Linked DNA regions of Homo sapiens: all the other regions are linked to region 4. Evidence: promoter capture Hi-C in 16 types of primary human blood cells and fetal thymus (Javierre and others, 2016). All regions are on one chromosome and are shown on one strand. The core of a region is centred on a gene start or on the middle of the fragment in contact, and the rest is flanking DNA. Distances in the headings are between cores, read along the strand shown. Region 1 overlaps CDK17 (cyclin dependent kinase 17). Region 2 overlaps CDK17 (cyclin dependent kinase 17). Region 3 overlaps ELK3 (ETS transcription factor ELK3). Region 4 holds the start of TMPO (thymopoietin). Region 5 overlaps CDK17 (cyclin dependent kinase 17). Region 6 has its middle 14 kb from the start of CDK17. Region 7 overlaps CDK17 (cyclin dependent kinase 17).

The links. The method cuts DNA at HindIII sites, captures the fragments that hold promoters and counts their contacts. A CHiCAGO score of 5 or more calls a contact.
Region 1: a contact is called between a fragment that was not itself captured here and the fragment with the promoter of TMPO in region 4, in 1 of 17 cell types (activated CD4 T cells). The highest score is 6.7, in activated CD4 T cells.
Region 2: a fragment that was not itself captured here is called in contact with the fragment with the promoter of TMPO in region 4 in 1 of 17 cell types (naive B cells); the score reaches 6.1 in naive B cells.
Region 3: a contact is called between a fragment that was not itself captured here and the fragment with the promoter of TMPO in region 4, in 2 of 17 cell types (non-activated CD4 T cells and total CD4 T cells). The highest score is 7.6, in non-activated CD4 T cells.
Region 5: a fragment that was not itself captured here is called in contact with the fragment with the promoter of TMPO in region 4 in 4 of 17 cell types (non-activated CD4 T cells, naive CD8 T cells, erythroblasts and 1 more); the score reaches 12.4 in non-activated CD4 T cells.
Region 6: a fragment that was not itself captured here is called in contact with the fragment with the promoter of TMPO in region 4 in 1 of 17 cell types (naive CD8 T cells); the score reaches 7.3 in naive CD8 T cells.
Region 7: a contact is called between a fragment that was not itself captured here and the fragment with the promoter of TMPO in region 4, in 3 of 17 cell types (total CD4 T cells, non-activated CD4 T cells and naive CD8 T cells). The highest score is 10.0, in total CD4 T cells.

Annotation. Positions count from the first base shown.
Region 1 is chr12:96,339,476-96,342,865 of GRCh38, forward strand. The region is part of intron 1 of CDK17 (cyclin dependent kinase 17); the gene reads right to left. Among named protein-coding and RNA genes, the nearest start is that of CDK17, 59 kb to the right of the region's middle. The HindIII fragment of the contact is 6,875 bases long and covers 1-3,390 here.
Region 2 is chr12:96,390,581-96,393,961 of GRCh38, forward strand. The region is part of intron 1 of CDK17 (cyclin dependent kinase 17); the gene reads right to left. Among named protein-coding and RNA genes, the nearest start is that of CDK17, 8.2 kb to the right of the region's middle. The HindIII fragment of the contact is 2,664 bases long and covers 527-3,190 here.
Region 3 is chr12:96,261,911-96,265,657 of GRCh38, forward strand. The region is part of intron 4 of ELK3 (ETS transcription factor ELK3); the gene reads left to right. Among named protein-coding and RNA genes, the nearest start is that of ELK3, 69 kb to the left of the region's middle. The HindIII fragment of the contact is 7,613 bases long and covers 1-3,747 here.
Region 4 is chr12:98,513,525-98,516,857 of GRCh38, forward strand. TMPO (thymopoietin) reads left to right here and starts at 2,066. Exons shown (of 9, transcript NM_001032283.3): 1 at 2,066-2,622. The coding sequence starts at 2,344. TMPO-AS1 (TMPO antisense RNA 1) reads right to left here and starts at 2,702. Exons shown (of 2, transcript NR_027157.1): 1 at 2,467-2,702; 2 at 1-2,373. RefSeq lists enhancers at 1,686-1,765, 2,026-2,215 and a silencer at 2,556-2,825. The HindIII fragment of the contact is 4,246 bases long and covers 1-3,333 here.
Region 5 is chr12:96,373,313-96,376,941 of GRCh38, forward strand. All of the region lies in intron 1 of CDK17 (cyclin dependent kinase 17), which reads right to left. Among named protein-coding and RNA genes, the nearest start is that of CDK17, 25 kb to the right of the region's middle. The HindIII fragment of the contact is 1,518 bases long and covers 1,447-2,964 here.
Region 6 is chr12:96,412,289-96,415,665 of GRCh38, forward strand. No RefSeq gene overlaps it. Among named protein-coding and RNA genes, the nearest start is that of CDK17, 14 kb to the left of the region's middle. The HindIII fragment of the contact is 1,865 bases long and covers 435-2,299 here.
Region 7 is chr12:96,357,591-96,361,300 of GRCh38, forward strand. The region is part of intron 1 of CDK17 (cyclin dependent kinase 17); the gene reads right to left. Among named protein-coding and RNA genes, the nearest start is that of CDK17, 41 kb to the right of the region's middle. The HindIII fragment of the contact is 4,569 bases long and covers 1-3,693 here.

The DNA.
Region 1 (3,390 bases), core at 136-2,635, 2.2 Mb before region 4:
AATAAATACCACTGAACTGCACTTAAAAATGGTAAAGATAGTGAATTTTGCTATGTGTATTTTACAACTTTTTTAAAAATTAAAAAAAAAAACCTTAGTGGCTTCAGACAATAACATTTATTATCCCTCACCAAAAAAAAGTTAATAACTATTATATTAATAACATGTTGAGGGCCAAGCGCAGTGTCTCATGCCTGTAATCCCAGCACTTTGAGAGGCCGAGGTGAGCGGATCACTTGAGGCCGGGAGTTCAAGATCAGCCTGGTCAACATGGCAAAACTCTGTCTCTACTAAAAATATAAAAATTAGCCAGGCATGGTGGTGCACGCCTGTAATCCTAGCTACTTGGGCTGAGGCATAAGAATCACTTGATCCCAGGGGGCAGAGGTTGCAGTGAGCTAGGATCGTGTCACTGCACTCCAGCCTGGGTGACAGAGACTCTGTCTCAATCAATCAATCAATAAAATAAAATAAAATAATGTTGAAAAATATTTTAGATGTTTAAGTAAAAAAATCACCAAAATTAACTCTGCCTTTTAAAAAGTTTTCAAAAAATATGCCTACAAAAATCTTAAAAATTACATATGGGGTGCACATTACATTTCTACTGGACAATGCTGACATAGAGCATTTTATATGCTCTATGTCAGCATGGTTTTAAGAGAGTCTAAGAGAAAAAAATAGAATCACATAAACCTTAACCTTTTCTTCATATAGTGCATTTGAACAATGTATCAGGGGACATTCTATGCGCTTCTAACTCAGAATAATACGCATGGCACTTATTTCATCATCAAAGAGTGAAGAAAATCCTGGTCTATAAAGTAATTTTAACTATACTTATTTTATATTCTGTCAGGAGTAAGAAAGATATTTCTAATTCATAAAAGCAAGAGAAAAATACTTATAAAGCTAAACCTTACTATAAAATTTTCAAATAAAATCACATCTTCAAATTGTTCCTATTTTTAATCTGTGGTATAATTGTAAAATTTTAATTAAGTTACAATGATTTGTAAACACAGATAATAAAGAATTTCATTACCACAGCCTAGATCATTATTAAAGAAAAAATATTCCCAAATGAAATAGGTTCCCTGACATTTCTAATTATCTTTAAGTAGAACTGTGCATATCAACTTTTTTCGTTAGCTGAGAACAAAGGCACATATGCTAAACTAAAAACACCTTTTGTGACATAAAAACTACTACTTACACTGGCTTTAAGGTTAATCTTTAATATTTACTATAATAGGGCAGTGCTAAATTACTGATTATCTAAAATTGGAACACTCAAGAGTTTGGTTAAAATATTTTATCAGTTTAATAAAAATTTTTGAGATTATGAAGATCTTTACACTATCATTTCTTTTTTTAACTTTTATGCTCAGGAGTACATGAACATGTTTGTTATAGAGGTAAACTGCATATATGGGGGTTTGCTGTGCAGATTATTCTGTCACCAAAGTAGTACGTATAGTACCCAATAGGTAGTTTTTTTATCCTCTCCCTCCTCCAATCTTCACCCTCAAGTAGGCCCCGGTGTCTGTTGATCCCCTCTTTGTGTCCATGCGTTCTCATTGCTTAGCTCCCACTTATGAGTGAGAACATGTAGTATTTGGTTTTCTGTTCCTACATTAGTTTGCTTAGAATAAATGGATGAATCTGGAGGCCATCATCCTACGCTATTGTTTCTATGAATATTAAGATAGATTAAACAGTGTGACTTAATGGTAAATGACTAAATATTCACATTTCAGTGTAAATGTCATTCTTCAGAGGGCCCTTTTCTGACTCTATTCCTCTATCCTTAGTTTTTACTCATAGCACTTATCATATACATACACACACACACACACACACACACACGTCTCATATATGTACGTGTGTGTACTGCAAAACTAATGTTTTTCTAGATGTCAAAAACACTTCTAGCTTTTTGTAATACTTAGATCAAATTTAAAACGGTAAAAGGGCAGTAAAGGGTTACAGAATGACAGCATATAACTCTCCATTTAAAGACAGTTGAAAATGTTCAAAAATCAGTTATCAACAATAAGTACATAAAAGGAACATGCAAATATAATGAATTATCTTACTTCGCCTTGGGCTAAACTTGTTCTTGGATTATCTGCTATACAATTAAGGAAAGGTAAGAATTCTATTTACTTAAGGAATATAGATAATGATTCTAGAATGCCAACTCAGTTTGGGCCTTAGGAATAGAAAAATATGCATACCATACACTGTTTTAAAAGAAGATAACAGCTAAAAATACTCCCAAACTAGATGTTCTAGTATGAGTCTTTACTTGTAAAAATGGTGTTATAGTGTGGTTTTCTCAGCACTTGCAGTAAGAAACTCTTTGCATACAATTTCACCTTATAGTCAAGCTACTCTAATATAAAAGGACTTATTAGAGTGGCAATCCACTGTTTATGTTTTTGAAATATTCTTAAAACAATTTTTTGTTAATAATTGCAAAATATTAAAGAAAAGGCTAAATATTGTTTTTAAATGACTAAATGACTTTCCTTTAGGTAAATAAGCAAAACATACACGTAGAACAAATCAAGTATTGTGAAGAATAAAATCTAGGATTTATTGGGAAACTAAGATTATTCCACGTAATGTTGCTTTTGTCAGTCTTTCTGAAATATCAAACAGAGATAAAGACAGATTTATTTCTTCATAACATTTTCAGCAACGATGACTATAAATAAAAACTACTGTAAAAAAAGTGAACTCATTAAGTGGCATGTAAGCAAATATTCTGTTATTTTCCCCACAATAATTAAGCCATGACAAATACCCAACACACTCTAGGACATGTAAGCTAATCATACAGAATGAGGAATAACCAGTGTTTAAAACTTAAACTTTTTTCATTAGAGACAATGTTGTTATTTGCATAAAACACAAAGTAAAATACAAAAATTAGCCAGGCGTGGTGGTGTGCACCTGTAATCCCAGCTACTTGGGAGGCTGAGGCAGAAGAATCGCTTGAACCTGGGAGGTGGAGGTTGCAATGAGCTAAGATCATGCCACTGCACTCCAGCCCAGGTGACAGAGCAAGATGCCATGTCAAACAAACAAACAAACAAACAAAACCATGAAGTGATTGTACAAAACACTGACAGAGCACTGAATTAAAATTTCAATCATGCTATAGGTTTTTTATACAAACACTTAAAATTTTTAATCCTTGGCCAAGTGTGGTGGCTCACGACTGTAATCTCAGCAATTTGGGAGGCCAAGGCAGGCGGATCACCTGAGGTTGGGAGTTCAAGACCGCCTGATCAACATGGAGAAACCCCGTCTCTACTAAAAATATAAAATTAGCTGGGTGTGGTGGTGCATGCTGTAATCCCAGCTACTCGGGAGGCTGCC
Region 2 (3,381 bases), core at 609-3,108, 2.1 Mb before region 4:
CACCTGTAGTCCCAGCTGCTCAGGAGGGTGAGGCAGGAGAATCGCCTGAACCTGGGAGGTGGAGATTGCAGTTAGCAGAGATCGCACCACTGCACTCCAGCCTGGACGATGGGGTGAGACTCCATCTCAAAAAAAAAAAAAAAAAAAAGACAGAAAAGAAAAAGAAAAAAAATCCTTCAAGTTTAAAAGTAGACCATGGAACAGTTTTTATTTAATTACTGTAATTCCATTTAAAAACAAGGCTGGGTGTGGCGGCTCAAACCTGTAATCCCAACACTTTGGGTGGCCAAGGTGGGTGGATTACCTGAGCTCAGGAGTTAGAGACCAGCCTGGCCAACACTACTAAAAATACAAAAATTAGCCAGGCATGGTGGCACACGCCTATAATCCCAGCTACTCGGGAGGCTGAGACAGGAGAATTTACTGAACCCGGGAGGTGGAGGTTGTAGTGAGCTGAGATTGCACCACTGCACTCCAACCTAAACGACAGAGGGAGACTCCATCTCAAAAAAAAAAAGAAAAACAAAGCTTCTAGTCAACTGTATACATAAACTACCACAGCAGAATGAATAACATTAAATGCACTGTTTGATCCTTTGAGTACAATTCTGCACTGCAGTAAGCGCATTTAAGCCAATACTACACAGTTAAATAGCTAGATTTCATTAAGGACGATTTTGGGGCGGGGGGTTGTTTTGTTTTTGATTTTTTTTTTCTTTTTTTTTTTGAAACAGAGTCTCACTCTGTCACTCAGGTTGGAGTGCAGTGGTGTGATCTCAGCTCACTACAACTTTCACCTCCCGGGTTCAAGCAATTCTCATGCCTCAGCCTCCCAGGTAGCTGGAATTACAGGCCTGAGCCACCACGCCCGGCTAATTTTTTGTATTTTTAGTAGAGATGGGGTTTCGCCATGTTGCCCAGGCTGGTCTCGAACCCCTGACCTCAAGTGATCTGACCGCCTTGGCCTCCCAAAGTGCTGGGATTACAGGCGTGAGCCACCGCGGCAGGCCAGTTTTTTTCGGTTAAACCAAATTTTACTCCTGATACACTGACCAATATTTTTAGACCTTCAGAAATGAGTACTTTCTTTACATATTAACATTATAATTTTATATTTCCATTTTGTCTAAAAGACAACAATCTTTGAAGGCCACACCCCTTTTCTCTCCATTTTCACTAACAAGTTAGTACAGCTCACATGCAATTAAACAGTCTCAATAATGCCAAGTTACTGTCCCTCCAAGTTGGCCTACAAACTGCTCTAGATTGCTCTCACACAAATACCACCAAAACTGTATAGCTCCAATATTTGAAACCTTTTACACTTTTTATTATCTACTATATCAAAATGTATTCTTGATTGCTTCTAAGCCTACTCTGACCTTAATTTACCAACTCGGTGTTGTTCCTCCTAATTCCATCACTTTATTCAATTTAAGAGTATGATAATACGGGAAGAAATACAGAAATGAAAAAAAACACGGCCTCTCTGGAGCACAACGCCAGCCAAAAGAGGGAGAGACCTGAAAATAATTAATTACAACATAACATATTAAGTACTACAGTATACATAAATACTATATAGCAGAACCACCATAACTGTCAGAATGGAACAAAGATCACGTTGGAGAAAGAGACGTTTGGGCTTAAAAATGAGAATTTCTCTACAAGTGTCATAGCATTGTAATATCAACATACCAGTTTCTTCATCTTTGTATCCTAGCCCCTACCATAGTGTCTAGTACAGAGTAGGCAGGTACTTCAGACATGGATGGATGAATGGACGGCAGTACGGAAAAAAGGATAAAATAAGATACATATATAAACATAAAGAAAGAATATGGTTAGATTAAAATGGGACAAAACTGGAGCCAGTAAATCAGATAAGACATTCCAAAACCCTTACGTAAGAAAGTGACACAGGAAAAAATAAATTTAAAAGATATTTAGGAATTAAAATTAACAGGACTTGGTGTGACTAACTGGACTAAGGGGAAATGAGCATAACAGAAAAGCGTAAGAAAGAAGCTGCCAAAGTTTTTGGCTTACGTGACTAGGCTGACAGTGGTACCATTCACTGAAATTGGGAACAGAAATAGGGGATTCGAGTTCAGTTTAGGTAAGGGAGCACTAAGGCAATATCGAGTAGGAAGCTGGAATGCAACTCAGAAAAAGAGGTCTAGATTAGAAATAAAGAGGTGGAGATTATTGCATATGGGTGATGAGAACAAAGCCCTAAATATAGACCAGATTGCCAGGAACACATAAAACCTGGAAAGAAGGCTGTGGACAGAATACTCAGACAACCAACATTGCTGTTATCTTATATGTTACAATATTGCCACATTAAATTATATTGTTACAACACAGATAACGGCTAATACAATATTGAGGACGTAACAAATGCTTTAAAAATACCAACTGCAAACCTGAGTTAATTGAAAAATTAAATTTATTAACTCAAATTGAGACATAAAGGACCACTTCTTAAAACCAATTTAAGGCCAGGCACAGTGGCTCACACCTGTAATCCCAGCACTTTGGGAAGCTGAGGCGGGTGGATCACGAGGTCAGGAGTTCAACACCAGCCTGGCCAAGATAGTGAAACCTCATCTCTACTAAAAACTACAAAAATTAGCAGGGCATAGTGGCAGACACCTGTAATTCCACCTACTCGAGAGGCTGAGGCAGGGAGAATCGCTTGAACCCGGGAGGTGGAGGTTGCAGTGAGCCAAGATTGTGCCATTGTACTCCAGCCTGTGAGGCTCCGCCTCAAAAAAAAAAAAAAAAAAAAAAAAAGCTAATTTAATAGGTCAGACTCAAGGTGCTTAAGTCTAAGGAATCCAATTTTACTTCAGAATCAGTAAAAAATCTGGGCACAGTGGCTCACACCTGTAATTCCAGCACTTTGGGAGGCTGAGGCAGGCAGATTGCTTGAGCTCAGGAGTTCAAGAACAGCTTGGGCAATATGGCAAAACCCCATCTCTACTAAAAACACAAAACTTAGCCAAGACTGGTGGCGCTGAACCTGTAGTCCCAGCTATTTGGGAGGCTGAGGTGGGAGGATCACTGGAGCCCCAGAGATCAAGGCTACAAGAAGCAGTGATCACACCACTGCAATCAACCTGGGTGGCAGAGTGAGACCCTGTATCTTAACAAACACAAACACACACACACATACTCAATGAAAAGCTTCTTTTTCCACCAGAAATAACATTACAAGTCAATAATATAAAATACTAAAATCTAAGTTGTTATACTTCAAAAAATGTTTATTCTAAAATAATACTAAAAAACACATATTAACTAATTTAAAGAAGAGCAAGTCTAAATTTGGAGTGATAAGGGCTTCAATGCTGTTACTTGATAGTTTCTCACAAG
Region 3 (3,747 bases), core at 532-3,031, 2.3 Mb before region 4:
GTTAGCATGCAAAATAATCTCCTAGAGGGTGAGTTAAAATAAAGATTGCAGGGCCCCACTCCCAGAGTTTCTGACTCAGTAGGTCTGGGATAGGGCCTGATAAAAACTTTTTTTTTTTTTTTTTTTGAGACAGAGTCTCACTCTGTTGCCCAGGCTGGAGTGCAGTGGTGTGATCTCTGCTCACTGCAATTTCCACCTCCTGGGTCCAAGTGATTCTCTTGCTTCAGCATCCCAAATAGCTAGGACTACAGGCGTGTACCACCACACACAGTTAATTTTTGTATTTTTAGTAGAGATGGAGTTTTGCCATGTTGGCCAGGCTGGTCCCAAACTCCTGACCTCAAGTGACCTGCCTGCCTTGGTCTCCCAAATTGCTGCGATTACAGGTGTAAGCCACCGTGCCTGGCCCAAAAACATTTTTGTCATGTTCCTAGTGATACTACCCAGTCTAGGAACCAATTTGAGAAGCACTGCAGACCAGAGGTTCCTAGTTTATATTTAGAATTCTGCATCAGAAATTACTGCATTTAAAGGCTACCTGCTTAGAGTTTTAATTTCACCAAGTGGACCTGTTCTCTTTCCTGAAGCCATTCAGAATACAACCCTTGAAAAAAAAGACAAGCTGGTATTCCGGATGGCTGACAGGTTGTATGGCCTTGGGCTCTCTTTTTGTGGCTGGATCCAGGAGACTAAGGAAAAACAATTTTTTGCCTTTTAAAATATTATTAGTCTTCCTGTGAAAAGAGCAACTGAGTATGGCAAAAGTTGAAAATAGCAATTTTGAGAACGGTAAACAACAAAATATGGTAGAGGAATAACTTTCTGATTTTTAAAACTAGATGTTACAATTGATACATATTCAGAATTCAGATTACTATCAGCAGTGCCTCTTATTTTTTTAAGAACTTTTTTTTTTTTTTAAATTTAGAGACGGGGTCTCATTATGTTGTCCAGGCTGGTCTTGAACTCCTGGGTTCAAGTAGTCCTCCACTTCAGCCTCTGGAGTAGCTGGGACTACAGGCATACCACCACGCTGGCCAACATCCCTTTTAAACTGATGAAAATAATTTTCTTTCAAAATAACAACAAACCTCTTTCATGTACGCTATAGATGTAATGAAGGAAGAAAAAAATAGATTTGGCTTACACATTTTAAATGATGCTGGCAAGTTTCCTATTACCATGATTGGAAAGGTTGATCAGAATCCTTGGGGTAATAGTTGAACAGCTGAAGCATTTTTGTACAGAAGGGCCCCTAATATGATTACTATAGCAGGTTATAGCAGATATGAAAGAATTCCAAGGAAGGAGAGAGAAGACGCCTTTCTGGAAGAGGTATGCTTTAAAATTGAGAAATGTTTAGGTAAGGAGAGAGGCACCGAAGACATTGTGCTAAATGTAAACAAAGAACCTTGATTTATATAAATAAAGTGAACTCGGTTTTTCTTGGACAGTTTATTATTTTCTTCTTGTCTAAGGATGTCTGTTCCATGACTTTTGAAACAGATTTTGTTCCAATGTGGAATATACCTAGTAGGAATAGGTATGTCTTGAAACAAGGTAGAGCTAATTAAGTTTTCAATTAAGAATGTGTGCTGTAATTTTTAGTTCAACAAATCTAACCCCAGCAAATATTTGCAATGCTCTGCGACAAGGACTGTAGGGACAGAGAATATGTGAATAGTGGATGAGTAAACAAACTGCTGCAGAAAGTAAGGGGCAGACGCGCTTTTTCCAGCTGGCCACTGGACAGGCTCCAAGGAAGCAGTGGCGCCTCAGCTGGGAGGAAGGGACAGGATTTCGATCGAGTACATTTAGATGAATAGAGCCGAATGACGGGGACGTGAGAGTCTGTTCAGGAAGGGACCAGGTGATAGGAGATAAGGTTGGAAACGCAGCTGTGGGCCTTGAATATAGGCTTAGGAATTTCTCTCTTTATCTGTTAAATGTTTACGCTTTTTAAGCTGGAGGTAGGAGGATGAGATCTCTGTTTTAGAGAACAATCACTGATATTAGTGTGGAGGAAGAACTGAAGAGAAAGTGGAAGGAACAGGAAGATAAGAGGAAATTTTTATTTTTATTTTTTGAGATGAGCTCGCTGTGCTGCCCAGGCTGGAGTGCGGTGGCACAATCTCGGCTCACTGCAACCTCTGCCTCCTGGGCTCAAGCGATCCTCCCACCTCAGCCTCTCAAGTAGCTGGGACTACAACTACAGGCATATGCCACCAAGCCTGGCTAAGTTTTGAAATTTTTTTGTAGAAACGAGGTCTCACTATATTGCTCAGGCTGGTTTTGAACTCCTGGGCTCGAGCAGTCCTCCTGCTTTAGCTTCCTAGGAAGGGCTAGGATTACAGGTGTCAACGACCATACCTGGCTAGAGGAAATGATACTACAAATATTGAAGGGAGAATCATCTTTGAGATTAAAACAGTGGACACAGGATATAATTAGAAGACATTTTAGAGGTGAGCTCAAGAGAGGCAGACTTTGAGCTGGGTCTGAGGGGTAAAGTAGGTATTGAAAATTAAGTAGAAGCAAAGATTACTAAGTGATTAACATACTGGAAATGCTACTAAATAACAATAGTTAAGGCCGGGCATGGTGGTTCATGCCTGTAATCCCAGCACTTTGGGAGGGTGACATGGGTGGATCACTTGAGCCCAAGAGTTCGAGACCATCAGGGGCAACATAGCAAGACCCTGTCTCTCCAAAAAAAATACAAAAATTGGCCACGTGTGCTGGCGTGTGCCTGTGGTCCCAACTACTAGGGAGGCTGAGGTGGCAGCACTGCTTGAGCCCTGGAGGTTGAGGCTGTAGTGAGCCATGAGCATGCCACTGCACTCAAACCTGGGCGACAGAGTGATCCTGTCTGAAAAAATAAAGATAAAACATAACAATAGTTAACATTTATTGATGATTGATGACTTATTGTGTGCAAGACGTTGTTCTTAGCACTTTTGGTGGCTTCTCATTTAATACTCCCAGTAATTCTATTTTAGAGATAAGAAACTAAGGCACAGGGATATTGGCTAGTTTATTCAAGATAACACACTCGTAAGTGGTGGAGCCCTGACTCAAGTTTTAAGTTTGTGGTCCCAGCCACCATTCTCACTGACTTGGAGTAAGCAATGGAAGAAGGGCGAGTTTTGTGGGAAAGAGGCATTGGTTGGAGATGTCTAAAATGGAAATGGTTGTCAAGTCCAAGCATGGTACTGGAGAAAAGGTGGCTGGGGACAAAAGTTTGGGAAACGTTGCAGTTTAAAATAGGGGAGTGTCATGGGAGAAGAGCCTAATAAAGATGACTAAAAAAATGTTAGAAAAGCCAGGCTAATCAAGAGAAACTATGTCCATTGAGTATACAGAAATAATAAGGGCAGAAATCAGTAATTTATTTTGCAAAACAGATGAATACCAAAACTGATTCTCTTGAAAACACCAATAAGGTACACCAAAGAGAGAGAAGATGCAAATAAACAAAAAGAATGAAAATGCAGGCTGGGCACAGTGGCTGACATCTGCAATCCCAGCACTTTGGGAGGCTGAGGCAGGCCAGTTGCTTGAGCTCAGGAGTTCCAGACCAGCCTGGGCAACATGGTGAAACCTCGTATTTACCAAACATACAAAAATTAGCTAGGCATGGTGGCATCCACCTGTAGTCCCAGCTACTTAGGAGGCTGAAGTGGGAGGATGGCTGGGAGGTGGAGGTTGCAGTGAGCCAATATTGCATCACTATGCTCCAGCCTGGGT
Region 4 (3,333 bases), core at 816-3,315:
GATTTCAACTGATGACAAGGTTCAGAATCTGACTGATACCGAAGTGGTTAAGACGCAAGAGAGGAACAAATTGTTGGAGATGAAGAGGTCAGAGGTCTAAGAGGCCAAGTGTTGGTGTTGCATGGGTCACCTACAAGCATGCTGAATTCAGATAGAATGTAGACAAGAGGGATGGTGAGGAAAACCTACGGCAAGCAGCTCTATAATTTCTGGAAAGTGACCAGGAGGCTCGTGGATGATGGCAGGAAGGAGAGTAGAAAGTGATTTAGCCAGAAGATATGAACTTCAAATATTTTTGAAGCAGAAAAGAGCAGAAATGGTTTGGAAGTAGCAATCAGGACCAAAGAGACCACCCAAACTCAATAGCCCAACCTCTTAGCCTTAGGGTACGCAGAATCTGAAAAGTGTAATCTCAATTTTGGAGCTCTACAGCAGTAAATCTGCAAGTAACCACCTGTAGCTAATGTCCAGGGATTAAAAAAAAGATAATGAAAATGTTTTTGCCCAGGAAACATTAATTTCAGGCGTATCTAGAATGCAGTTCTTGCATTATACGTACTGGGTTACCAGTCATTGCAAAGTCATGGTCCTTTGCCTCTCAGCTCAGTTCCCCTTCTGAAGATAAAAACATTTGCCTATGTGTCCAGGGAAGCTGTGAGGACAAAAAACCAAGCAACTTTTACAAGGGATCATAAAAACCTACCTAACAACTTGCTAATTAAAACCTGATTTTTAATTTGCATTATTGAGCTTAATACCATTGCTTAAATGTATGTGAATACTGAGATTTTTATAAAGGAATTAGTTACCTCTAGGAAAATAATTATCACTAAAAGAAATAATATCGCAATTTGAATAAAAGTAAGTCGCTTAAATCATAGGAAACATTTTTAGTGAAGGCGTTTGTTTTAAATGTATTCTAACCTAGCAATGTAGAAAGCAGGCAAACATTTAAAAAAAATTTAACCAGTTTCTAAAACATAGTTTGGAGCTCAGATTCTGGGGAAATGATTAACACACCCTACATCCAAGGTCTCCTTTCCTTTCTAGAAAGAAAGCATCTTTAAACATACATATTCATCAGAAATACAAATATTTGTCATCAGTGATACTAATTTCCAGGCAAACATTTTAATTGCAGTCAATGTATTAGATTCTACCAGGTTTTAATTTGGATCGGTAATACGGGTTTGATTAGGGTTCTAGGCCTAATTATAGGTCACTAGTCTTCCTTTAGGATTATGCACCATCTGTTATTTTAAATTGACCATTGAGGGGGTTCCCAAGGGTTCTCCTTCGTTTTGTTATCAAACGTTAGGTTTAGGATTCTTGCGGGTGGTGGGATCCAAAGCCAGAGACGGTTTCAACAAAAATGCAAGCGCGAATTTGTCTTGCGTCTGAACGCACTGTTCAAATTAAACAATTTAGACATGCCCCAACTATGACACTAAGAAGTGAATGGTATAGTACACTTTTGTCACAAATTCAAGGGTAATTTAAGTGCCCGATTGTAGAGGTCTGGCTTCCCCTGGGTTTCTGGAACAAAAGAAGCGTTCGCGAGGAGAGGGGTAACTCCCCGCCCTCCCCCTCCCAAAGTAAATCAAATCAAGGAATATGAGTGCCTGCAGACAAGCCTCGCTTCTTTTCTTCCCCTTCAGGGCTAGCGTTTGGGGAAGGCAAGGCTGCGGCTACTCTTGGAGCTTCAGTGTCCCGGGAGGAAGAAAGGCCCAGCCAAGGGTCCTCACACTGGCGTGGAATTCGGCGCGTTCGTAGGCGATCGACCCCAGAGACGAAAGCTGCTTCTCAAGCTGGGGGAGGGAGAGGAAACGGCGCACAAAAGCAGTACGACCTGTCCCTTATCGGCGTCTAAGGGGAAGGGTGGAGAAAACGAAAACAGAAGCGGGCCGGGAGCCTCGGCTCCCGCCCCAGCGCCTTTTAAACTGCGTTTCTACCTCCTCTCGCTCAGCGCGGCGGCTAATGGAACCCGCGCGAGCCGTCTCGCCAATCACCGCCGCGCTTCCTCCCGTCGCCCGCCAATGGCGGCGCGCGTTCTTGGGGCGTGGGCGAAGCAGGCTGCTCGCCTCCTGCCTGTAGTGTGTGGGCTGGGGTTGGTGCGAGCTTCCAGCTTGGCCGCAGTTGGTTCGTAGTTCGGCTCTGGGGTCTTTTGTGTCCGGGTCTGGCTTGGCTTTGTGTCCGCGAGTTTTTGTTCCGCTCCGCAGCGCTCTTCCCGGGCAGGAGCCGTGAGGCTCGGAGGCGGCAGCGCGGTCCCCGGCCAGGAGCAAGCGCGCCGGCGTGAGCGGCGGCGGCAAAGGCTGTGGGGAGGGGGCTTCGCAGATCCCCGAGATGCCGGAGTTCCTGGAAGACCCCTCGGTCCTGACAAAAGACAAGTTGAAGAGTGAGTTGGTCGCCAACAATGTGACGCTGCCGGCCGGGGAGCAGCGCAAAGACGTGTACGTCCAGCTCTACCTGCAGCACCTCACGGCTCGCAACCGGCCGCCGCTCCCCGCCGGCACCAACAGCAAGGGGCCCCCGGACTTCTCCAGTGACGAAGAGCGCGAGCCCACCCCGGTCCTCGGCTCTGGGGCCGCCGCCGCGGGCCGGAGCCGAGCAGCCGTCGGCAGGGTAAGGACGCGGGGCCGGGGCTACAAAGGCGGGCGTTTGGCGGTTGCCGCGCGCGCTCGCCGCCGTTTGCAGCCCCTCCCTCCCGGGCGCCCCCTCGGGCCTCCCAGGTGCGGGGCTGTCCCTGCGCCCCCTCGCGTCGCCCCTTCCCCGCGGGGCTGCAGGCGCCGGAGCGGAGAGGCCAGAAGTTGGGGCCGCGGGGTTCGCGTTCTTTGACGTGTGGGTCTGGGAGGTGTGGAGTTGCGTTGGCGGCGGTTGTTTTGCACGCAGTCGACGCCGCTTCCCTGGACCACCAGCCGCCTGCAGCGGGCGTTTAGACGGGGACTTCCGTGCCCTTTCGAAAGCTCTGGAGGGGTGGCCCCAAAATGCTATAGGTTAAGTTCGAGCGTTTTCCCGCTTTATTAACTGAAATGACTCGCAGCAGAGTCTCAGAGCGCTCCCTGGAGGGCAACTGATGACACTCTAATTTCTAACCAAAATTTGAAATGAGGAAATTCCCGCCTTTTTATACTTTTGCGTGTGGAGGGCTTTTTGAACCGTTTATGTTTTCTAGTTTGTTTTAATTTTTCCCAGCAACAGGCCATCTTTTGGCGGAACAGGTTCATGCCGAATTAAAAGGAGCATTTTAAACTATATTTTTAGGCGCCTATTATAATTTTTTAGTTTTTATTTATTTATTTTTTTAGATGGAGTGTCGCACTTGTTGCCCAGGCT
Region 5 (3,629 bases), core at 956-3,455, 2.1 Mb before region 4:
TGCGGTGGCTCCCAAAGTGCCTGTAATCCCAGCACTTTGGGAGGCCTAGGCAGGCGGATAACCTGAGGTCAAGAGTTGGATATCAGCCTGGCCAACATGGCGAAACCCCGTCTCTACTAAAAATACAAAAAATTAGCCGGGCGTGGTGGCAGGCACCTGTAATTGCAGCTACTAGGGAGGCTGAGGCAGGGGAATCACTTTGAACCTGGGAGGCAGAGGTTGCAGTGAGCCGAGATTGCGCCATTGCACCCCAGCCTAGGTGACAAGAGCAAAACTCCATCTCAGAAGAAAAGAGAGAGAGAGAAAAGAATTAACAATTACCTCAATGGCTGGGCACAGTGACTCACGCCTGTAATCCCAGCACTTTGGGAGGCCAAGGCGGACAGATCACAAGGTCAGGAGATCAAAACCAGCCTGACCAAGATGGTGAAACCCTGTCTCTACTAAAAATACAAAAATTAGCTGGGCGTGGTGGTGTGCCCCTGTAGTCCCAGCTACTTAGGAGGCTGGGGCAGGAGAATCGCTTGAACCTGAGAGGTGGAGGTGGCAGTGAGCCAAGATCGCGCCATTGCACTCCACCCTGGGCGACAGAGCGAAGACCACTCCACCCTGGGCGACAGAGCAAGACTCCGTCTCAAAAAAACAAAAAACAATTACTCCAAAAGGATGTGAGATCTAAATCAGAATGCATGTATTGTACCTAGCACACAGTAAGCATTTAACATATACTATTTTTGCCACTGTATACTCCCAAATTATGAACATCTGATTTATGTTCTGTATATAAAATTGCAAGCTACATATCACTAACCCTCTTTCCCCATTAACAGCCAAAATGAGAAATTAAGTAACTTTCATGGAGCAACACGGCAGCCAAATTGGTAAAATTATTTCTATGAAAATATTATCAAATTCAGATAACTAATCTGCAAACACATTTTCCCACTAGGCAATTCTTAGGTGAAGAATGTCATGAACTGAATAGTTCTGTGAACAGCCGTTATTTTGTACATGCGTAGAAAAATTGTTAAGTAAAAATTAATCTCTGGGGCCAACAGGTCATTCTTCACCTAGCCTTACAAGAACTTTGTGTTCTGACCCCACTACTTTTCAGCTCCATCTCCAGAGATACACAGTGAGTGCTTCATTGCCTCAAAGAAATTATTTGTAGCTTCTATTCCCTTAAGGTGTTTTGCTCAGGCCTCTTAACTTTGCACAAGCATATCCCTCTACCAGGAACAATTAACCCCTTCCCCTTCATCCCATTCTCTGACCTCTTGGCAAATTCTTATACTTCCTTTATAAATTTAGTCAAATGCCCCTTCTTCCTAAGAAGCAACATCAGAGATCTCAAGACTCTGTGGAAACCAGGAAAAGGGGGGAACTAATTTACTTCTCCACAGAAGTAAAGTAAGTTCAGATGGGCTGAATACCAGTCAAGCAGTAAGCTTTCAAGCAAGTGAGGTCATGAGAAGAGCCCATCAGAAATAAATGAAACAACACAATGCTACAGCCACTCCAAAGGCAGAAAGGTACATATACTTGGATCTACTGTAATGCACAAATATATTCTTGTCCATCCCAATCCTAATCCACCTAAGACTTTCTCCACATCAGCACCAGTTCATCTCAGCACTGCTGAACAGTCACACAACAGAACAGTTTGATCAGCGAACCTAAATGGGCCTCAACACTGGCCAATAATCTTACTATATTTCTCTGCTGCACTTGGTCTCCTACTCTCCCCAATGTCTACTTCAAACCATCTCCACCATCCACAATTATATGATGACCCTTTCCCTAACCCATACAGTGTGCCTGTGTGTATACATATGTACACAAAAATGAGTTAAACATAGAGCTTTCAGGTAGAAATTTCCTGAACTAACCTACACCAGTTATCTTCACTGCTCCTTGCCTATAATTATAGGAGTTTGACCAGTCCTTCATTATCCTAAACACATTTTCCTTGGCTTCTCTATAACAATATCTTGGTTTTCTTCCAACCTCTCTGGCCACTCCTCTGCAGATTTATTCCACCCCTTTACCCCACCCTCAGCCACACATACACACACACCAGTGTGGCCTAAGTCCTGGCACAAGCATTTTTCTTCTATGTTTCCTCCTTAGGCAAGCTCATTCTGGGTGGACAACATCTACACACAGTGACTCCCAAATTTCCATCTCTGATCCTAACCTTTTTTTTTTTTTTTTTTTTTGAGACAGAGTTTTGCTCTTGTTGCCTAGGCTGGAGTACAATGGCGCGATCTCAGCTCACTGCAACCTCCGCATCCTGGGCTCAGCTCACTGCAACCTCCGCATCCTGGGTTCAAGTGATTCTCCTGCCTCAGCCTCCTGAGTAGCTGGGATTACAGGCACCCACCACCACGCCTGGGTAATTTTTTGTATTTTTAGTAGAGATGGGGTTTCACGATGTTGGCCCGGCTGGTCTCAAACTCCTGACCTCAGGTGATCCACCTGCCTTGGCCTCCCAAACTGCTGGTATTACAGTGATCCTGACCTCTTTATTAAGCTGCAGACTCACCTATCCAACTGCCTACTTGGGCATGTCTGACACCTAATTGTTAAAGTCAGGCCTCATTCCCCAGGGGAAAAATTGAAAGTCAAACTATTCACCAAGAGAATGCATTGTCTTTGCAAATGAGCCTAAGAATCAGACTTTTTATAAATACATGTTCAAGTTTCTTGTGGTTCTAAATGGACACTGAGAACTGAAACTGTCTACACCAAGTTTACAATCTATATTAACTATCATTATACAGCTGTCTTCAACAACATGACTTTGCTATTCCAGGAAACTCCTGCTCAGGCAGATAAGAGCTACAAAAAACTTCATTGTTCATTTCAGGAACTTCCCAAAAAACCCATATAAACCAACATCAGACTATTCAATTTTTCAATAAATAGTAGCAAATGATTGTTCACTTTCTAAGACACTGAAAAAGCTTACCTCAAAACTCTTACCTTGGTATGTCTGTCCAATCAAACTATTATATCATGATCCTCACCTAATTCTAATAAAGCTTTGAAATACTTAAACCAGACTCCAAAACATCAATAATAAACACTCCAACTTTGATGTTCCTTTCTGGTTTGCCATTCTTATCAACACCCACATGGCCCCCTACAAATGCTTATAAGCAATATACTCAACAGATAATTTTTGGTGGTATTTTCCAGCAGCCAAAATTCCGCAGTACCACCAGACAGCTTCCCAAATGTCTGTTACAAGCTCAGTTCAGTGACACTAGTCTCATCACAAGCAATGTGGGGAAAATATTAATACTGTTATAAAAGGTTAAGATAAATCATCACCCTATATTAGGCAGTATCCACTGACACTACTGGCCAGTTTCTTAATGAGTTAAAACAGCAAACTGGCCTACTAATTAAACTTCTGAAGATTATAAAATAGAGTTTAGTAATCAGAGGACCATAAAACCAGTAGGAGTTCTAAGGAAGATGAGAAACAGATCACAGACAGGTTTAATAATCTAAAAAGGAATCCTATAAGAAACAGGATAAGGAAAAAACCAATTGATACATGAATAATCCACAATACTGATAATCAGTAGAAAAAATACTACAAAATATACAATTTAACAGTG
Region 6 (3,377 bases), core at 117-2,616, 2.1 Mb before region 4:
CAGCAGTACCTTAAGTGGCAATCCTTGGCCTCAATGAATGCATAATATGTAGTTTGACCAAATATCTTAGCACAAAGCAGAATTTGGAAGGAAGTCAACCTATTTCTATTCGTTCTATAGCTTCTGACATATTTACTTCAAATGTTAATTGTTTATTAACAGTAAAACTACATGCAAGGTTTTTTATTTGCTTACCTGAGAAACACTGCCTTTCTTTTTGTATCTGATTCCTGCCTTTTGCTGTTTTGCAAACTGAATATCTCAGCTTTTTCCTGCAGGTCACATACTTCCAAATCAGATTGAGACAAGTCTGTATGGTTCACACAAGTGACACCAAGCTAGCAAAATACAACAGGCTCAAACTATGCTGGAATTGAGCCTGAGGGGGACTGATCAGTTTTATTCAAAACAGAGAATGAACTGGAATGAGAAGAAGCTTTAAGTAGACTTTGAAAAGATGATAGAGGAAGAATGGAAGAAAAAGTCATTAGGTTTTTAAGAACTTTCCACTTTTCCCATATAATATAAAATATTAATTTATCTCTTCCCCTTTTATCTTTTTTTGGTAAACACTTTTAAAATCATACATTAGCAACATCATAAAAAAATTTAGAAATGAAAGAAAATTGCCCATAACTTTACAACTCCAACACAGTAACTTGTATCATTTTGGAGTATTTCTTTTTAGCCTTTATTTCATATTCATATATGCTTTAATAGTATACAGGTAGATTTGTATTATGTTCTTCATTTGTCATTATCGTAAATACTTGTTCCTGTTGCTATAGAGTCTGCATGATTATTCTATTTGTTGGCTGCCTAATACTCTGTGACCTGTGTTTTGTGAACCTTCCCTAACTCCCTGCAAAGTCTTTCCCAAAACGTGCCTAGGAGTCATTGGAGTGAAGGGGTGCCACTCTTGTTTGGGGTCCTGCCCAGTCAGCTACCATATAGATCATTTAATTCCCCTTCTCCATTGCTGGGTACCACAATGTTTTCATGCAAGCGGAGTCTGCACATGCTGCTTTGAATGAAGGGTTTTAATTTTTTTCTTTGGTGTTTGCACACATTGGATTTATTTCAGATTACTCCATTTATGTGAATAAACAAAAACGAGGGAAGAAAATTTTTTCTAAGATTTTTTTTCTATATGAAGGAAGTCAATTTCTAATGCATTAAGATGCAGTGTTTACCAAAATTGGGGATGGGGGGGTGTTTATGTGCATTTTTGTGAGAAATCAGATACAGGGATGGCTGCCTCTGCCACCATTTCCCTGGATACTATTAACTTCCCAGATGGGATGTCCATTTTAGTTTATTCTCCCAAACCACCCACCTTGATTTCACCCACTGCTGCTACAAACTAAAGGATTCCTGCTTACAGTGGGGAAATTGGACTGGGAACTAACAAAGGCCGTTGGGATTCCCAGCAGTAGGTACCTGTTTTTCCTAGACTACCTTTAAATTATACTCATTCATGAAAAGAAAGTTTTTGTCCACATGCTGGGCTTAATATGAATTTTTAAAAAATATTTGCTCCTGGGTTCCAACTCTGACTCTGTCACTTATAACCGTGTATTCCTACTTAGCAAGTCACTTAACTTCTTTGATCTCCATTTTCTCATCTGCAGATTGGGATAATACTTTCTGCTTTGCAAAGTGATTGTAAGGAGGCCAGAGGCAATGCTTATATAGTTCTCAGCATCACAGCACCATATTGATATTGATAGCTAATGTTGTTATTTATTGTTCATATACTAACAGCAGATGTAATTCAAATAGCCTACCCCATCTTCGAAATGGCAGACAGGAAATACCAAGAGTCAAAATCTCAACTCTCTTTTGTTGTTTTGATCGGCAATTAAAAAGAAATTCTTGGCTGGGCACGGTGGCTCACACCTATAATCCCAGCACTTTGGGAGGCTGAGGCGGGCAGATCACCTGAGGTCAGGAGTTCGAAACCAGCCTGGCCAACATAGTGAAACCCCATCTCTACAAAAACTGCAAAAAAAATTAGCCAGGCATGGTGGTGCATGCCTGTAATCCCAGCTATTCGGGAGGCTGAGGCAGGAGAATCCCTTGAACCCGGGAGGTGGAGGTTGCAGTGAACCGAGATTTCACCATTGCACTCCAGCCTGGGTGACAAAAGTGAGACTCTATCTCAAAAAAAAAAAAAAAGAAAGAAAGAAAAAAAGAAATTCTTGAACTCAAAAAAAAAAAAAAAATTCAGGCTATGAAAAGATATTTTATTGAATTAAATGTGAAAATGTATGACTTTTTTATACTTGAAAATTAAAAAAGCTTTAAATTAGCTTCCTGTACCTTTTTCTCTTTAAAGCAATGGGTTTATTTCAACATATAGCCCCAAGAACTCACCAAACTGTAGTATAAAGTATTATATCCAGAGTTCAGACAATGGCAAAGTGACACACCAGGAAAAGCCAGAGTTTGGGTTTTGAGAATAGAGACACACCCAGGTAAAGGCTGGTGTTGGTTATTTCAGATGCTTAAATCTGCTATTGGATTTGTAACTGGGACATCTGTCATTAAAGAAGAAAAACAAGCAGGAACAAGATGCGGTAGGTGGCAGATGGATTTTCCAAGCAGCTGGCAGTTAGCACAGGTTTGGACAGGTTGGAAGTCAAGGTTGAGAAAATCTGATAGTCACACATTTGGAACAAAAGACTTCACTTTCACATAATTTTGTTGTTTGTTTTATTGGTTGTTTTTTTGTTTTGTTTTGGTTTGGTTTGGTTTGATTTGTTCTGGTTCCAAATAACTTTCTTATGTCACTATGGGATGCCCCATTGAGGAAATGTAATGGCTACATATATAGTAGTTCATATAGTACATGTCTCTTACGCCTTAGACATAAGATAACTGGATTCAAATTCCAGTCCTAACACTTACTAGCTGTGTCACCTTAGGCAAATGTTTGATGTTCCAGGGGCTTCACTTATTCACTATAAAATAAAGTCGCCATTTATTTATTGAGACAGGGTCTCCATCTGTCTCCCAGGCTGGAGTGCAATGGCATGATAATAGTTCACTGCAGCCTCTGCCTCCCAGGCTCGAGGTATCCTCTTAACCTCTCAGGTAGCTGGTACAACAGGTGCATGCCATCAAGCCCAGCTAATTTTTGTATTTTTTGTAGAGATGGGGTCTCACTGTTTTGCCCAGGCTGGTCTCAAACTCCTGGACTCAAGCAATCCTCCAGCCTTGGCATCCCAAAGTGCTGGGATTATAGGTGTGAGTCATTGTGCCCAGCCTAAAGTGGGTGTTTAAACGAGCAATTCTTAACCCTGTTTATTGGTGGGAGAGGGTCATTCACCTCTTTTGACCTGATCAAAGATAAGAATCACTTTCTCACAAAAATG
Region 7 (3,710 bases), core at 159-2,658, 2.2 Mb before region 4:
GACTACTGATAATTCTGAGATTCAAATTACCCTACCTAGCCATTTGAAAACCAACCTTTTTAACTGATAAAGCAAGCACTGAGAGGTTACACCTCTGGGTTGTACATGCCCTACCTTCTCTGTGAGAGCAATCCAGCTTATTTTATCTGGTGAAATGTTAACTAGTAATAATATTAGGCCAGTAAATTCAAATTCTTCCTGAGAAAGGTATCCTGAGATTTTAATCCTGGGTACATATCCAAGAGAAACTGTAACACATTTACCCAAAAATATGAACAGAAATAGTCACAGCAACATGTCCGTAATAGCATAATACTAGAAACAACCTAAATGTCTATTACAGACCAGATAATAGGTAACAAATTACGGTAATTCATAGAATAGAATGTTATTATACAGCAGTAAAAATGAATGAACTACAACCACATGCAACAAGGACAAATATTAGTAATGTGATCTTTAACAAAAAGAAGTCCCAGAAGACTACATTTAGTATTTTTTATAAAAATAAAAACACACAATATATTTACTGTTTAGGTAAACTATATATAATGCTTTTTAAAAATACAAAGGATTAAAATAAAGTTTATGATGACAGTTACAAATTAGGGAGAGGCAAGGAGAAAAGCACATAAAAAGTTAAGTTACTGACAATAAGAAGTTGGGTTAACAGATATTAATTATTTTATTGCTGTATAACTACATACACACACAGATATGCAGATTATGCAGGGACCAGTGAGGATCTTGTCATAAGCCCAGAACTCTGTGCAAACTTGTAAAAAAAAAAAAAAAAAAAAAAAAAAGTTTAGGGAAAAAAGAATAAAAACAATAGCATAATTAAAAAGTAAAAGTAGATTTTAAGACAGTAAAATGTATACATATATTTATTTACCTGTTTCTTAGTAAGTGTGCAAGGTCAAATATTTTAATAATAAAAAGGATACAGGGGCCGGGCACATGGCTCACATCTGTAATCTCAGCACTTTGGAAGGCTGAGGCAGGTGGATCACCTGAGGTCAGGAGTTCGAGACCAGCCTGGCCAACATGGTGAAACCCCATCTCTAGTAAAAATACAAAAAAAGGTAGCCAGGTGTTGTGGCACACACCTGTAATCCCAGCTACTCAGGAGGCTGAGGCAGGAGAATTGCTTGAGCCCAGGAGGCGAAGGCTGCAGTGAGCTGAGATCAAGCCACTGCACTCCTGCCTGGGTGACAAGAGTTGAGACTCGGCCTCCGTGCCCGCCCCCACCCCACCCCACCCCACCCCACCCCAAAAAAGGGATATATGGCTAGAGTCAAAAGAGTGAATTTCTTTTTCCCAGACCTGCCACTAGGTAACCGTATATTCTCAACAGATGACTTTCCAAAACTGACTGGTCAGATGGCTTTTTTTTTTTTTTCCTGAAACAAATGGCCTATATTTGACATCATTAGGTATAAAATTTGATGTCATCGGGTATGAAATTTGGTCTCTTTTGTAAGATGTATCACTCCATTCTTGGCTTCCCTTCATTTCTTGGCCCACCAACGTATCTAATACCTGCTACTATTTGGCCCACAAATAAAGCACCTTACTAATCATTCCAGCAGATTCTCTTCATAATTTATACAGATTATTATAACCACTAAGGACAAACATGAAGATACATACACCATGGGAGAACAACTGTTTTTATCTGAGATGTGTTTATTTGATAAATGTTCCTTTAAAGAAGACATTAATTAATACCAACTGTAGCAGTCAGATTTGACTAGGTTATAATAACAAAGATTTTATTCTCTTTCATGTTATACATCCACTGAGCACTGACTGGAGGCTCTGCTCCAAGTCTTCAAGGATCTAGGCTGAAGGAGCTGCTACTATGGCAAGAGGATAAACAGTGGCAAAGTACTGTCTATACAAACTCACTCAAAGTGTCCATCTGGGGTATTACACATTACTTTTGCTCAGATTTCATTGGCTAAATCAGGTCACATGGCCATGCCTAATTTCAAGTAGGTAGCAATTCCTATCATATTCCCAAGAAAAAGAATATAGCTAAACAATTTTCACAATTTCATAACATTTTGGCATTTGGAGACAAACACTATATTAATTAGCATACTATGATGTATTAAAATTCAAGAGTAAACAAAAATAAACACAATTTCTTAAAAAGATTTATACTATAAAACTCAAAGAGCAGATAAAGTTTAAACCAAATCCCCATCAAAATTCTGAAAGACAGAAAACAAATTATCTATATCCCTTGATAAGTACATAGAAATTTCAAAGAAATATTTACTTTTTCCTCTAAAAATCCCTATAAAGTAAACCGAGACATTCAAGCTATCTATAGTCAACAAATCTCCACTATAAAGGAAATAAAGCAGGAACAGACATAGTAATTATAGATTTGTTTAATTATACTTAGGGGAAGGTAACCTACACTAAAAGGTATTAAGACAGAAATGACACAAGAGCCTATAACATGCACTATGATGGGGGAAGGGATCTGGAAGTGGGATTTATACAGGCCAAGGTGACCCCACTAAATAATGGAGAGGAAAGCATACTGCAATCAAAATATCTAGAAGTCTTGGAAACTCTCAGCATGACCCTGTATCCAGCATACGTTTAGGTACTAACGAAGAAAGTACATTGAAGGAAACAGGGTTCACTCTACAAGCGTAATGGAGGTGGAAGGGTTGACGGGAAGAGGCCTGATCATTTGAAAGGTATCTTGATAGATGGATTTACATTCTTCCCTGGAACAGTTTTACAAGAGCTGGTAAGATATGCCAGTGAGAATGAGGCATATTCAATCTCATTAACAACTGAACTAGAAAAACCTAATCAAGCCTCAGGTAGGTGACTTCTGGAGGGTATCACATAATCTTTGATACCAGGTTAAGATTTGGTTTAAACATCTCATTTTCTGAAGAATTTTAGATGCCAAAAATTATCAAAATAAGATCCCTCCCTTCATCAGGTAATTTTATCATGACTCACCTAGTTTATATGAATCCTGTGTTAGGAACTAAGGACAGAGAGACAAAAGACATCAGCACTGGCCTCAAGATGAGAAACACTACAGAAAAGCAGACAACAATGCAGTGTGATAATGACGTATACCCAGGCAGCTCTGGGACCACAGAAGACATCCAACAGGATACCAAGAACAGGGAAAGGCTCTGCACATTGCAGAGGCTCAGTAGCTATTAATGTGATCTCCTGGACTTTGGCTGGCAAAGGCCTAGTATTCTGACCAGTGTATTAGGCAGGGTTCAGTCAAGAGACAGAAACTACACCTGTAATTTTAACAGACAATTTAATAAAAGTTGCTAACCAGGAAAATTGGAGAACTGAAAAGGCAAAAAGGAGGACAGACATGTATCACAGACATAGTAAATGCAAAAAGCAACTGTCAATACCAGAGCTGAGAGGAACAAAGGGAAGTCGTAGGAACTATGAAAACTCAGAGGCTTGAAGGAGAAACCCTATGAAACTGGGATCCAGACCTCCGAAAAGAAAACTACGTGTCAAGAGCTTGGAGCGGGGAACCCTGCAAAGCTGGAACCCAGATTTTTCAGAGGGAGGAAATGGCTAGTTGATGCTGGCATCTCTGAGGGGATGTGATGAAGATGGTTTTATGAGTGTGGAAAAACTGCAAACTGGAACCATTTGCCACTCCTTTTCCTACCAGGGTGAAGCTTTGTTGCTGTGGA